Linked DNA regions of Homo sapiens: regions 2 and 3 are each linked to region 1. The links are contacts of gene promoters, found by promoter capture Hi-C in human tissues and cell types (Jung and others, 2019). All regions are on one chromosome and are shown on one strand. The core of a region is centred on a gene start or on the middle of the fragment in contact, and the rest is flanking DNA. Distances in the headings are between cores, read along the strand shown. Region 1 holds the start of TEX10 (testis expressed 10). Region 2 overlaps MSANTD3-TMEFF1 (MSANTD3-TMEFF1 readthrough). Region 3 overlaps MSANTD3-TMEFF1 (MSANTD3-TMEFF1 readthrough).

The links. The method cuts DNA at HindIII sites, captures the fragments that hold promoters and counts their contacts. A contact is called where the count stands out against the background at its distance.
Region 2: a contact is called between a fragment that was not itself captured here and the fragment with the promoter of TEX10 in region 1, in 1 of the 25 tissues and cell types used here (dorsolateral prefrontal cortex).
Region 3: a contact is called between a fragment that was not itself captured here and the fragment with the promoter of TEX10 in region 1, in 1 of the 25 tissues and cell types used here (mesenchymal stem cells).

What each region holds. Positions count from the first base shown.
Region 1 is chr9:100,350,719-100,355,301 of GRCh38, forward strand. It overlaps TEX10 (testis expressed 10), which reads right to left and starts at 2,224. Exons shown (of 15, transcript NM_017746.4): 1 at 2,054-2,224. LOC105376177 (a long non-coding RNA gene) reads left to right here and starts at 2,332. Exons shown (of 4, transcript NR_188642.1): 1 at 2,332-2,863; 2 at 3,279-3,377. RefSeq lists enhancers at 1,463-1,512, 1,917-2,551 and a silencer at 1,853-2,402. The HindIII fragment of the contact is 15,352 bases long and covers 1-4,583 here.
Region 2 is chr9:100,570,300-100,574,882 of GRCh38, forward strand. It overlaps MSANTD3-TMEFF1 (MSANTD3-TMEFF1 readthrough), which reads left to right. Exons shown (of 10, transcript NM_001198812.1): 9 at 2,219-2,377. It overlaps TMEFF1 (transmembrane protein with EGF like and two follistatin like domains 1), which reads left to right. Exons shown (of 10, transcript NM_003692.5): 9 at 2,219-2,377. Among named protein-coding and RNA genes, the nearest start is that of CAVIN4, 5.5 kb to the right of the region's middle. The HindIII fragment of the contact is 5,125 bases long and covers 251-4,583 here.
Region 3 is chr9:100,511,505-100,516,087 of GRCh38, forward strand. It overlaps MSANTD3-TMEFF1 (MSANTD3-TMEFF1 readthrough), which reads left to right. Exons shown (of 10, transcript NM_001198812.1): 4 at 1,803-1,829. TMEFF1 (transmembrane protein with EGF like and two follistatin like domains 1) reads left to right here. Exons shown (of 10, transcript NM_003692.5): 4 at 1,803-1,829. Among named protein-coding and RNA genes, the nearest start is that of TMEFF1, 41 kb to the left of the region's middle. RefSeq lists enhancers at 2,878-3,378, 3,379-3,879. The HindIII fragment of the contact is 4,141 bases long and covers 196-4,336 here.

The sequences.
Region 1 (4,583 bases), core at 974-3,473:
TACAATATTAATAAAATGGCCAGTGCAATACTGAACAGCTCAAGTTCAAGGAATTCAGAAGCCAATCAGCTATGACAATATATCCAAATTTACTTAATTACAGGGTTATATTAGATCGCCATGAGGTAGGATTTCCCACAGGTTAAGAACCAATTCTACAACCAGATTGATTAGGCTTTTATCCAAACTCTGACGCCTTCCAGCTGTACACTGTCCCAATTTCTATCTACAAAATAGGGATAATCATACACAATTGTAAAACACTCAGAACTGTGCCTGGTACATGGTTAAATACGTATGCTCAAAGCATAAACATGTGCGTGTCCCTCAAGTCTCAGGATCAGGACATACCAAGCCCGGTACTAGATGCATTGTGTACCTCAGTATACAATCTGCACAGAACCATGCAAGGTAGGTGGAACTAAACCCATTTTAACAATGTACCTCAGAAAAGTTTGGAAGTCACGCCTTTATCAAGAAGTTGAAAAGGGATTCATTCACAGAACTGAGCTCTGCAAAACCACCTTTAACATACCAGAATTAACCTGAAGACTGGAAGTCTTCGTGGCAAAACAGTTTGGCTTATTTCATTTGTCCCTATTACCAAATTTTCATCTCACCCACACCTCTAGTTACCTTAGTCTTAAAAAACAAAACAAAACAAAAAAAAAAGCTGGGGGTCGGTGGGTGGGTGGGTGGGAGGGAATAAGGCCTAAAAAGAAGGCCATGATACTCACCTGGCCTCTTTTAATACAAAAATGGTTTTCATTAATTAAGCAAGCACACTTTGTGAGCTTTTCCTACAATTTTATTACTAGCTGGTACTAGACACGAAAGTAAATGGTACAGGACATTCAGAAAAATTAACTCCCTTCCTCCTCCACTCCTGTGGGTTCTATTTAGCCATTAACCACCTGATAGATCTTCAACAGTCTACTGTCAACTTCATGCCATATTATCTATCGCTTTGTATTAGTCACATTAATGCTTTCTCTGTTAGGAAAATTAAGAAGGCTGATTGACCTTCCTTGACTTTTCAAACCTAGTAATATTATTACGGGATACAAAGCATTTTCATGCGAAGAACTCTCAAAGTTCTACTAGTAATTGACTTTAACTTATAACAAAGATTTTCATAACACAGCAAATCAAAAAGTCCCACTAAGCCACTTTTACAGTAGCCGGTTTTTAGCAAAAGGTAGGAACGCCAGTCTCAGAGGAGGAGCTCACATCACTAGTCCTTAGGTTTGCGATCCCCAATAGTTTCAAAGCTGAATGTCACACATTCCTACTGTAGGTCTTTTCTAATTCCAACAAAAGGCAGATCCTAGCGTTTTTAGGATTTCAATCGAACTAAATTCCAACTATAAATAGTTTGCCTGCCACCTTCTTACCCTTCCTCATTTCCACCTTCTTTTCCAAAAAAAATCAGAGAGAACGATCGTACTGCACTCGGCCTTTGATAATTTCCTCCCCAAACCCTTAAACTCATGAGTTCCTCCAAACTCCACTGAGGGGCCAACCAGAGGCGACAGACTTCCCAAAAAGCAAATGGCCCAGGCAGGGGCGACCCCAGAAAACTGGTAGTCCCCTTCCGCTCGCTTAACTCTCCCGCCTGGGCGACCAGAGGACGGAACAGGGGACGCCAGCTCATCCCCACTCCGTATTCGGTCCTGCATCCATCCCAGAGGCGAACACACCATGGGTTTTAGGAAACCATCGTTCCTCCTACTCCAAGGGACGCCGGCCAGGACCAGAGTCGGGGAAGTGGGGCCCGATTCACACACTCCGGGCTAAAACTCTCTCGGACCCGAAACCAGGCGAACCCGCCCAGTCACCTGAAGCTCCGCAAACGCCCTAGGGGGTCCCGCCCCCGCAGTGCCGGCCGCACACCCAGGCCCAGCTCGGAGGGACGCCGCGGCCCAGACCCGGGGGACGCAAATCGTGCACGGCCGACCCTGCCCGCTTGGGCCGCGGATCGGGGGGCGACGGCCCCACCACGCTCAGTCCCGCGCCCCGGGAGGACCCGGCCCGACGGGCGACGGCCGCTTACCTGAGGACCCGGCCGCGGCCGGGGCGAGAAGCCCGAGAAGACAAGCGAGGGAGCAGAAGCCCACGGGGCAACAGCGTGCGCCGCCGACCTCAGGCTCTAGCTCCCGGAGCGTGTTTTCAAATAGCCTCGTCCTCACGCGGCCGCGTCTCCTTCCGCCGCCCGGAAATCAGGGCCCCTCCCCCTCCCTGCTGTGCTCACGTGATCGCAGCCCGCAGCCGCGCGCAACCGGGGAGGCGGGAGCGGGAGCGGTAGGCCCCGCCCACAGAGGAGGGTACCCCGCCGGAAGCCCCCTGCTCTGTGGGAACCGGAGGGAGGACAGCGCGAGGTCCCCGGACAAAGCGTGGCGCATAAGTCCGGCCCGTAACTTGGTGGGCAGGCAACTTAGGGGATGTGGGCCTGGTTATAGCTGAGCATGCTTTTCTATTCCTCCCAGACCACAGTTCTTCAGACCTGGAGCCACTTTCAGAGAAGAGTATAAGTTGCACTGAATTGAAAAAGGGAAAAGTTTAGGACTGCAGAAGATGGAATTCCTGGGGACGTTAAACTGGGCTAAGATGGAGCAGATAAGATTTCCTTAATTAGAGCAAGACACACCTAGTATCTAGAGCCTGGAAGTCTTGGTCAAGGATTCTCCCTAACATCTCAGTTTCTCAGCACTAACATTCCTGCTACTAAAATGAAGTGAGAAATTAATTTCTGAAGTTAAGTAAAGAAATAAACTAAAATTCCTAGAAAAGAGGTAAGAAGAATGAGCCTTTGAAAAATGTCTTCACAAAGACTGGCATGATGGCATGGAAGAAAGAGCCCCAGGTAAGGACTTCAGACCTTGATTCAAATTTGTGTCTACACCTCACCAGATAATTAAGACTTAGTAAAGCTAGCGAAGATATTGACCCTCATTATATTGGGTGGGAATTCAAAGGAATGATGTCTAAATCCAGGGAGACCCAAGCACTGGAACTAAAACCATGCCTGTTCCATAATCGGAGATAAAGAGGCAGCGCTAGAAACCCTGACCTCCCTTTGCTGGCAATATGGCCACATCACCACAATCTGCCTGGAATCGACCATAACCATAAATATTTGGGAGTCATTGGCATTATGTGGCATTATATTCTGTTTAAAGCTATGAGACTAGATCAGAAGAGGAAAGATTTATTGCCAACCAGACAAGTCCCTGGAACTCCAAACTTGTATCCAACAGTTTTTTCAATGTTTCCTTCAGATATCCAGTATACATCTCAAGGTCAACTTGTCCAAAACAGAGCTACTGATGATTTTCCCCTTGAAATCTACTCTTCCTACAGCTTATTCATCTCAAATAGTAAGTCTGTCCTTGCAGTTACTCAAGCAGAAACCTTTGGGTTTTTGGTTTGGCCTCTTTGTTCCACACCTCACATCTAATCCATCTGGAGATTGACTCTACCTTTAAAGACATCCTAACTTTCACCAGTTAACACACCTCCCCTGCTACCATTCTGGTCCAAGCCGCTTCTTGATCACTGCAAAAAGCCTGCAAACACATCTTCCTGCTTCCCTTATTGTCCTTCTTCCCCCTACAGTCTGGTATCAGCAGAGCAGCTGTGTGATTATTTTAAGATCTAGGTTAGATCAGATCACTCTTTGGCTCAAAACCCTTTAATGGCTCCCTATTTCACTTCGAGTAAAACCCAGAGTCCTTTCTAGGGCCTTCCCTTAGGCTGTTCTTGCATGGCTATAAAGAAATACCTGAGACTGGGTAATTTACAAAGAAAAGAGGTTTAATTGGCTCATGATTCTGCTGGCTTTACAGGAAGCATTATGTTGGCATCTGCTTGCTTTTGGTGAAGTCTCAGGGAGCTTTCAATCATAGAAGGTGAAGGGGGAACAGGCATGTCACATGTTGAAAGCAGGAGCAAGAGAGAGAGCAAAAGAAAAGAGACAGAGAGAGAGAGAGGTGCCACACATTTTTAAACAGCCAAATCTGATGAGAACTCACTATCACTAAACAAGCACCAAGCCATGAGGGATCCACCCCCATGACCCAAGCATGTCCCACCAGGCCCCACCTCCAGCATTGAGGATTACAACACAACATGAGATTTGAGCAGGGACAAATATCCAAACCATATCAGTTCTCAAGCTCTTCCATATTCTGACACAGTCTCTTACCATCTGAGCACTCCTCCTTCCACTCTCCCCTTTTTTACTCTGCTCCAGTCACACTTGCTTCTTTGCCTTCCTCAAACACCAGTGACACACTCCTGCTTTTGGACCTTTTCTTTAGCTTTTCTGTCTGCCTGAAACACTCTTCCCCAATAAGTCCATGTGGCTAACTCCCTCTCCTCCCGAGTCCACTCAAATATCTTCTCAGGGAGCCCTACCCTGACCACCTCATTTAAAATAACAAATTACCTTCTCCCAGGACTTGCAATTTCCCTTTAGAACATATCACCTTCTGGGAACATCACACTCTGGGGACTGTTGTGGGGTGGGGGGAGGGGGGAGGGATAGCTTTAGGAGATATACCTAATGCTAAATGACGAGTTAA
Region 2 (4,583 bases), core at 1,563-4,062, 220 kb after region 1:
ATGAGATTGCTGGATCATATGGTAGTTTTATTTTTAATTTTTTGAGGAACTTCCATACGGTTTTCCATAATAACTGTATCTTATGTTTTTTTTCTTCAGAGTTTTATAGTTTTAGCTCTTACGTTTAGATCTGCGATCCATTTTGAGGCAATTTTTGTGTATGACACGAGGAAGAGGTCTAGCTTCATCCTTTTGTGTGTGGATATCCAGTTAGCACCATTTGTTGAAGAAACAGTTCTTTCCCCATTGAGTTATCTTAGCACCCTTGTCAAAACCAATTGACCATAGATGTATGGGTTTATTTCTAGGCTCTCCATTCTCTTCCATGATCCACATACCTGCCCACTGCTTGTTTTTTTTTGTTTGCTGGAAAGCGTAGAGCCCAATGTGAAATGTACTGGGAAGTGTCTAGGAACCTCAGGGACTGGATTGGTAGACTTGCAGCACCCCTGGATTTCCCTGTTTCCCTCCTCCCACATTTCTTTTTTGTTGTTTTAATGTGTGCTTTGCGATAAGCTGCCTCAAATTCTTTTCTTAATGAGTTGTGGGACATTCATAAATACTGTTTTTATACTTCAAATGTTTTATTAATCAGTTCTCACTGAAGGCTGGCTAATTTATACATTTCACTGCTGTCAGCTTAAAAATGTAAATTGTCTGTTAAGTGTCTTAAATATTTCTCCCTGTCAAATTATCATCAGCTGATGCAGTTGTCTTTTTATCTACTTTTAATTGGAATTCAGATAATTTCCAAGATTAGCACCTACAGCTTACCTCCTTGACTGCTTGACATTGTTTCTGTTATTAATAACTTATTTTCATCTTCCCCTTGCATCTTACATGTTTATATTTTATACACTGAAAAGTGTCTTGAATATAATTTGGTGCTATGTTCAGAGGACTGTAAATGTTTATACCTATTTTTTCAATAGTCTTAATTTTCAGGTACTTAGCCCTAAGGAATAACACTAAATATAGAAAAGCGCATATTCACCAAGATGTTTACCACATCTAATTTATAATTGTGAAAAATTGAAAATAACTGACATGTCTTAGAACTGGGAATAGATAATGCTAGCTATATTATAGTCACTGGATGGAGTATTATATTTCTGTTTTGAAATTATATGTATCTATTTTGAAAAAAATGCTAAGAGAGTAGATTTTAAGTGTTCTCACCACAGACATGATAACTATATGAGGTAATGCATATGTTAATTAGCTTGATTTAGCCATTCCACAATGTCTATACATTTCCAAATATCATGTTGTACATCAGTGGTCCCCAACCTTTTTGTTGCCAGGGACTAGTTCCGTACAAGACAGTTTTTCCATGGACTGGGGATTGGGGGTGGGGGTGATGGTTTGGGGATGATTCAAGTGCATTACATTTATTGTGCACTTTATTTCTATTATTATTACATGGTAATACTTAATGAAATAATTATACAACTCACCATAATGTAGAATTGGTGGGAGCTCTGAGCTTGTTTTTCCTGCAATTAGACAGTCCCATCTGGGGGTGATGGGGGACGGTGACAGATCCTTAGGCATTAGATTCACATAAGGAGCACTCAACCTAGATCCCTTGTGTGCGCAGCTCACAATAGGGTTTGCGCTCCTATGAGAATCTAATGCCAGTGCTGATCTGACAGGAGGCGGAGCTTGGGTGGTAATGTGAGTGATGGGGAGTAGCTGTAAATACAAAGAAGCTTTGCTTACTTGCCCACCACTCACCTCCTGCTGTGTGGCCTGGTTCCTAACAGGCCATGGACCAATATCTGTCCATGGCCCGGGAGTTGGGGGGGATCCCTGTTGTACATGATAAATATACGTAATTTTATTTGTCAATTTTTAAGCAAATTTAATTTAAAAAGTGAAAAAAAGGAGTAAATCTTTGTGGCTTTAGATTAGGCAATAATTTCTTAGATATGACACCAAAAGCAAAAGCAACAATAACAAAAAAAGATATACATTAACAATATTCAGCAACTTTAAAATTAATGTGATATAACTTAGGTGAAAGACGCACCATGTAGGCATATCAGAAAGACAGTAGGGAAACATACAAATGACATTTTTCCCCCAGATGGTAGGAAAGTGCATGATATCCTATTCCTGTTTAAATTTTATTACTATTTTGTATTTTTTAATGTAAAAGCTTGGGAGTATCAAAATTTGTAATTTTCATAGGAATATATATATTTTTCCTTTTCAGATGTGAATCTGGCTACACTGGACAGCACTGTGAAAAGACAGACTTTAGTATTCTCTATGTAGTGCCAAGTAGGCAAAAGCTCACTCATGTTCTTATTGCAGCAATTATTGGAGCTGTACAGATTGCCATCATAGTAGCAATTGTAATGTGCATAACAAGGTAGGTAATGATGTAAGAAATATCAACTTTAAATTAGAGGCAGGCAACTGTTTATTTATAGATGCTTTGAGGCCACCAGTCTATTAGGAAAAATCTTATGATCAGTTCCCTGAGGTTTTCAGTGGTCTCTCCCTATCCTTCTTCTTTAGGATACGGGCAGGGACTAATTCCCAGTCTTACAGGTATATCTGGGCGACAAGCAGAGAGGGAATGAGAATAGTCAATGAGATAAAGGAATTTAGGGATCTGAGAACTGTATACAGTCTTTGAACACTGTATTCTGGGAAAATAATGTTAGTAGCAATCTTTTTTTTTTTTTTTTAAGAGACAGGGCCTCACTCTGTTGCCCAGGCTGGAGTGCAGTAGCAATTAGAGCTCATTGCAGCCTCAAATTCCTGGGCTCAAGTGGTCCTCCAGAGTAGCTGAGACTATAGGCGTGAACCACCCTGACTGGCTCAGAATTTCTAGAATGATCTGCACATGCATAGGAGATCCATGCAGAAGATTTTTAAGCCCTGCACAACTGCAAGGGGTTCTGTGCCCTAAGAACGTACTTTACTCACAGTTAGTATAGTAAGAAAGGAAGAAATCAGAGGCTGAAGATAGTTTTATTGTGATATCATGGTGTTAACATTACTTCATTTTCAGGATTGCAGCGATAAGTAATAAGCTTTAAAATTCTGTATTATAAATAAAATTATTCGTCATAAATTAAATGACTTATTTGGAGTGCAGTGGCATAAAATGGGTCTTTTCTAAACTGAGTAGAAATACATAAGTCAGACTGAACTGGGCCTGAGAAAAGTCAGAGTAAATCCAGCAAGTTCGTGTTGTCTTTGTGCTTCCCAGTCTAATGCTTTTCTTCCTGCTTACCTCTTTCTTTAAGCTTCAGTTCAGAAGTCTCATAAGCATCATTTCTCCACTTCCCTGCATTATTCTGGGCAGAGGGTTGAAGCATATCAAATACAGATATTGGCAGGCCATAATGGATTTGTGGCCCTTCTATCCAAGGTCTGGATAGAAGCCAGACCTTCAGTAGTCTCAGCCATCTGGAGCTGAGATGATAAATCTAGAAATGATAAAAAAGAAAAGGTTCTCCAAGTAACAGATATTTTTCATAACACCTAGGCATGAAAGTCAGTGCGCTTTATTTCACAGAACAGATGATCTGCCCTTAGGCAAGACTACTGAATATAAAATTGGACGGTAGATCAAAGTAGGGACATAATCATGTAACAAATAATGATAACAGAAAGAGAAGATAGGGAAAACACATTTAACAGCATGACTGGCTGTAGCCATTTAATATAGACTCAGAGGTTAAGTAATTTGTCTGTGGTCATCCGACTAGTAAGTGGAATTGTCTGGATTTGGATTCAGTTTGATTCCCATTCATTCTTTACACTGAAAGGTTCCATGTTGAGTCATCTTGGGAAACATGTTTGCCCAGTATGACCATTGCATGGGAGCAGGGTTCAAACTTGATTTTGTAGCAGTTTAGGGTTTTTGAGCAGGGGAAGGACTTGGTATAAACCATATTTTTCAGAGTATTAATGAGTCATCTGAAAAATTCATTGGAGTAGTGAACATATGAGGTAGGGGGAAGACCATTTAAGTCATTATTAGAGTTAAATAGGAGTGAGGTAATGAATGATTTGGAAGGCAGAAGGAAAATTAAGGTAAAGTAAGGGGAGATGTTTGAGGCCTGGAGATAGTGCCTTTATTTGAGACAGGGTCTCACTCTGTCATTCAGGCTGGAGTGCAGTGGCATGATCTTGGATCATTGCAACCTCCACCTCCTGGGCTTATCTCAACCTCCCGAGTAGCTGAGACTACAGGCATGCGCCACCATGCCTTGCTAATTTTTGTATTTTTTTTTTTGTAGAGACTGGGTTTGGCCATGTTGCCGAGGCTGGTCTTCAACTCCTAGGCTCAAGTGATCCACCTGCCTCGGTCTCGCAAAGTGCTGGGATTGTGCCCAGCCAGATAGTGCCATTTTTAAGAGGATCAAAGGATGTCAGAGTCAATGAGAAACAATTCTGAGTTCAACCCCTTCATTTAGAGAAGTTGGGAAACTGAAGCCCTGAGATAAGAAGTACCTTGGTCTAAGGTCCTAGAGCTAGGAAAGCCCCCTTACAACAGTCTTTTACCCAACTCTTTCAGTGCTATAATGCTCAACTACTCAATTAAAATTACCTGGCAGGCA
Region 3 (4,583 bases), core at 1,016-3,515, 160 kb after region 1:
ATTGATTTTATTTTCTGAGTGGGCAGTGTTTTATGTTATTTGGTCTTTTGTGGATCCTATTCCTTGAACTAGAAATACTATTCTCTTTTCCTTATTTGAAAACTCTTTTTCTTATGCTTAAGGTTGGTCTTAAGCCTTTTCTCCTCTGTGAAATCTTCCTTCTGTGACATCTCCTGGCAGAGTTTGTTTATACCTTGGGTGTATTTCTATACATATACCATATTGTATTTCATTCATCTGACATAAGTACCTCCAGCCAAATCAGTGCTTTCTCAGTGGGGAGGTACTGTCTTACCTAGGGATGTGTATCGTAATCTCAGGGTGGGACGGAATCGTGTAGGTTGGGGCAATGCGTACCATTTACAAAATATAACATACAGGGAGAATTCTACCTTGTTATCAGAGTAGCCACAGTATTTAATTTATTTAAGGATTCTAAATGACGAAGGTATGAGATTTTTATATTTATTAAAAGTAGACATGGTTTGAAAAAAAGATTGGGAGTAGTATCTTGTGTACTGGGAATATGTCTTATTTATCATTTTATTCCTCGCATTTACCATGGTGCCTGGCACATAATATGTAACCAATCATTGTATGTGGAATCGAAGTAATAAAGGGGTGTTTTCCTAAGAAGAGTTTGGTCATAAAAACAATTTTGAGTTTCCTCCCTCGCTGTCTTTTTTTCTGTTCCATCACTCTTTCATTTCCTCCTTATTTACTCAGAGAAAATGTCATTTTGTGGTTGATTAATCAAAATTGAACATAATTTAAGACTTTCCATAAAATCCCATGAAGATTTTACAATGGGTACTGCATACAATATATATTTTTCTAATTCCTCCTGTTTCTGTGGTATCTGGGAATTTGATTATTGTCCGAAGGAGCTTGAAGGGAAGGGAACAATATTGTTCTGAGTGTTGTTTTCTGCTCTAGAGGACAATTTGGAGAGCTAGCATGGGTTCTTTAGGATCCAGGGTATCCTCTCCCCTGGCAAGTGCTAGATAAAGCATCAAATTCCTCACTTGCTCTCTCTGCTTTTTAAAATGACTCTGTGCTGATGATTTTACATCATTACCCTCTTTTCAACATGTTCTGTGCTAATATGTTGGTTCCTTTAGGATTATAGAATAAATATTTTACATTAATTGTACTTGAGACTGGCTTCTTTCTGGTAACTTTGATGAAGGCTCTTTTTAATTTCACTAGCGACAAGTCAGGTAAGTCCTTCGGATTGGATTTCCTAGAGGAAGTTAATTTTATTAGTAACATGAAAACCTCAAGCCTTTGGTTCCTTGCTTCCTAAACCTTGGGGCTTTTCTTACCTTTTGGCTTTTGGTCTTTATCCGCAGATTTCCTTAAGAAGATTTTTTTTTTTGTAGTAAGACCCAAAGCTCTTTTCCTGCCTTTCTAATAAAAGCAGCTTATTCATTATTTCTCTCAAGCTTTAACAAAAACTAAAATTTTCTCTTATCTTTTAAATGAGTGGATTAAAATTAATTATTTATATTTAGCCTTTTACTTTACAGTATTTATTGTCTTTACTCTGTGCAAAGCATCTGGGTATGTCCTTAATGGGATACAAAGATGTATGAAATATAGATGATTATGTATCTAAGCAATTTATATTTTAAGAGCAGCATAAAATAAGTATGTAAGAATAAATAAGATATCAAAAATATGAGAAAAGGACTCTTTGAGAATGGATATCACAGTTTTATTTTTGATAGGAAATTTTATTATTTGATAAGATGAAATTTCCGGGAAAAATGTTCATATTCATTCTTTGTTTTTCTTCTCAGATAATGGATCTGGATCTGGAGAAGGAGGTAAGTTTCAAGTACCTCTTAAAGGATATTTGCTTTTCTTTCTTTCTTTCTTTCTTTTTCTTTTTTTTTTTTTTTTTAAATCAGCTTTGAGATATAATTCACATACCATATAATTTGCCACTTGAAGTGTACAAATTCAGTGACTTTTAGTAAATTCACAGTTATATATTCATTAGGATATTCAGAGTTATATATTCATCACCACAGTCACTCTTAGAACATTTTAATAACCTCAAAAAGAAACCATGCACTCCTTAGCCATCACTCCTAACCCAACTCTCCCTCTCAGCTCTAGGCATTCTTGTTTCTTGCATTTTTCTCTGGAAGTTTATTGTCATACTAAGGGGAAGATGTTGTAGTTTCTGTTAAATTGAGGTTGCATCATCCCCACAAGTGATTTTAGCTTGGACCAGAGTATTTGTAACTCTTTCCCATACCTTGCTTTCAAGTTTTTGCTCATCAGGAATTTTCATGGTACAGGGTTAAAAACTCCAGAGGGAGTTGTGCATAGAAAAAGGAAGACTTGCCCAACAACTCTCGTGGAATTTAGAGTTTAATTTAAACCTTTAACAATTTCCTATCTATGTTTTTGATTTTATTTTACAAATATATGAATTATTTCTGTTGTTTAAAAGATTAATATTTGGTAATAGCATATAATGGAGTTTAAATGATCAGAATTGAGATTGACTAATCTATATCATAGTCTAATGAGGCTATAATTCTTAATGAGTATGTACTGTATACCAAATAATGTTTGAGATATTATGGGGTACACCAAAGAACACCCACTTCAGTACAATTCACACTTAATGCAAATGGAAACTACAGTTATGATCCTTTCAAAACTGCCTGAAACCTCACTCCATACGTCTACATTTCATAGAATCTTAAAATTTCAGAGTTGGAAGGGACTTTGAAGGTCTCCTGGAGAATAGGAGAACTGTCCTGAGGAGAAATTCAAGGATGACAGTTTCAGCTAAAAAAAAAAAAAATGATTAAAGCTTTCAAACAATAGAATTTGAAGTAGATGGACATGTTCAAGCAGAAGCTTTATAATCAGGTGTGAAGGATCAGATAATAAATTCCAGATCTTAGAGCTGGAACAGATTTTAGGCGATCATGTAGTCTAGCCCCTGTGGTCAGGTATTCAGTTAGGAAACTGTCATTGTCATTGTTCCTATATTAAAGAAGTGAGAGTTGATCTCAAGATTTGCTTATATAATACAATATTGGGCTGGGCGCAGTGGCTCATGCCTAAAATCCCAGAACTTTGGGAAGCTGAGATGGGAGGATCACTTGAGCCCAGGAGTTTGAAACCAGCCTGGGCAACATAGTGAGACCCTGTCTCTACCCCAAAAAAAAAAAAAAAAACAAAAGGCCGGGCACAGTGGCTCATGCCTGTAATCCCAGCACTTTGGGAGGCCGAGGCGGGCGGATCACCTGAGGTCAGGAGTTTGAGACCAGCCTGGCCAATGTGGTGAAACCCCGTCTCTACTAAAAATGCAAAAATTAGCCAGGCGTGGTGGTGGGCGCCTGTAATCCCAGCTACTCAGGAGGCTGAGGTAGGAGAATTGCTTGAACCCAGGAGACAGAGGTTGCAGTGAGCTGAGATTGCGCCACTGCACTCCAGCCTGGGGGACAGAGCGAGACTCCTTCTCAAAAAATAAAAAAATAAAAAAATTTAAAAAAGCCAGGTGTGGTGGTATGTAGTCTCAGCTACTTTGGAGGCTAAAGCGGGAGGATTGCTTGAGCCCAGGAGGTTGAGGCTGCAGTGAGTGGTGATCACGCCATTGCACCCTGTCTCAAACAAAACAAAACAAAAAATGCTGGATATCTTGCCCTGAGGATGTAGGTTGACCATTTTTAAAAAATTTTTTTTTGAGAGCATGAGTTAGAAGGGCTAAGTGGTTTGCCCCAGTTAATATACAGACCTTAGTGAGCTCATGGTAACTGTAGTATTTCTGAATATTATGATGTTTTGGGGCCTCAGAATTACTTAGGATGATAATCCCTGGTATCTGTTTGGGAGTATTCATGAGAGTTTAGGGGAATATTTCTATTTAAGGACAGGCAGACACCAAAAATTAGAAGTTCGGAAGCATTACCAAACAGGCATGGCAGATTTGTGTACCTTTTTTAACACTATCTTTATTATAAGACACCCCCTGAGGCCGGGTGTGGTGGCTCATGCCTGTAATCCCAGCGTTTTGGGAGACTGAGGTGGGCGGATCACAAGGTCAGGAGTTCAAGACCAGCCTGGCCAACATAGTGAAACCCCGTCTCTACTAAAAGTACAAAAATTAGCTGGGCATGGTGGTGTGAACCTGTAATCCTGGCTACTCAGGAGGCTGAGGCAGGAGAATCACTTGAACCCAGGAGGCAGAGGTTCAAGTGATTCTCCAGGCTGAGATTCATCCAGGCTGAGATTGCGCCACTGCATTCCAGCCTGAGACTCCGTCTGAAAAACAAACAAACAAAAAAAAAAGACACTCCCTGAATAGTACTCTTTTTCAAACCAAATTCGAGGGAAATCCCTTGAATGAACTGAAATCCTTAAGTTGATTTCAGAACTGATCTCCCTGGCCAGTTTGAGATTATCAGGATATGATCCACTCTAGTTGAGACCCACAAAGTGTAAGGCCCTTTCAGTGTGGAATGTGAGCTGAGTTTGGGGCTGGAGGTATTTAGTGTTTTTATTTTTTTCTTTTGCGTTGGAGCATAAGAGACCTGCATACTTTTGTATCTGCATAT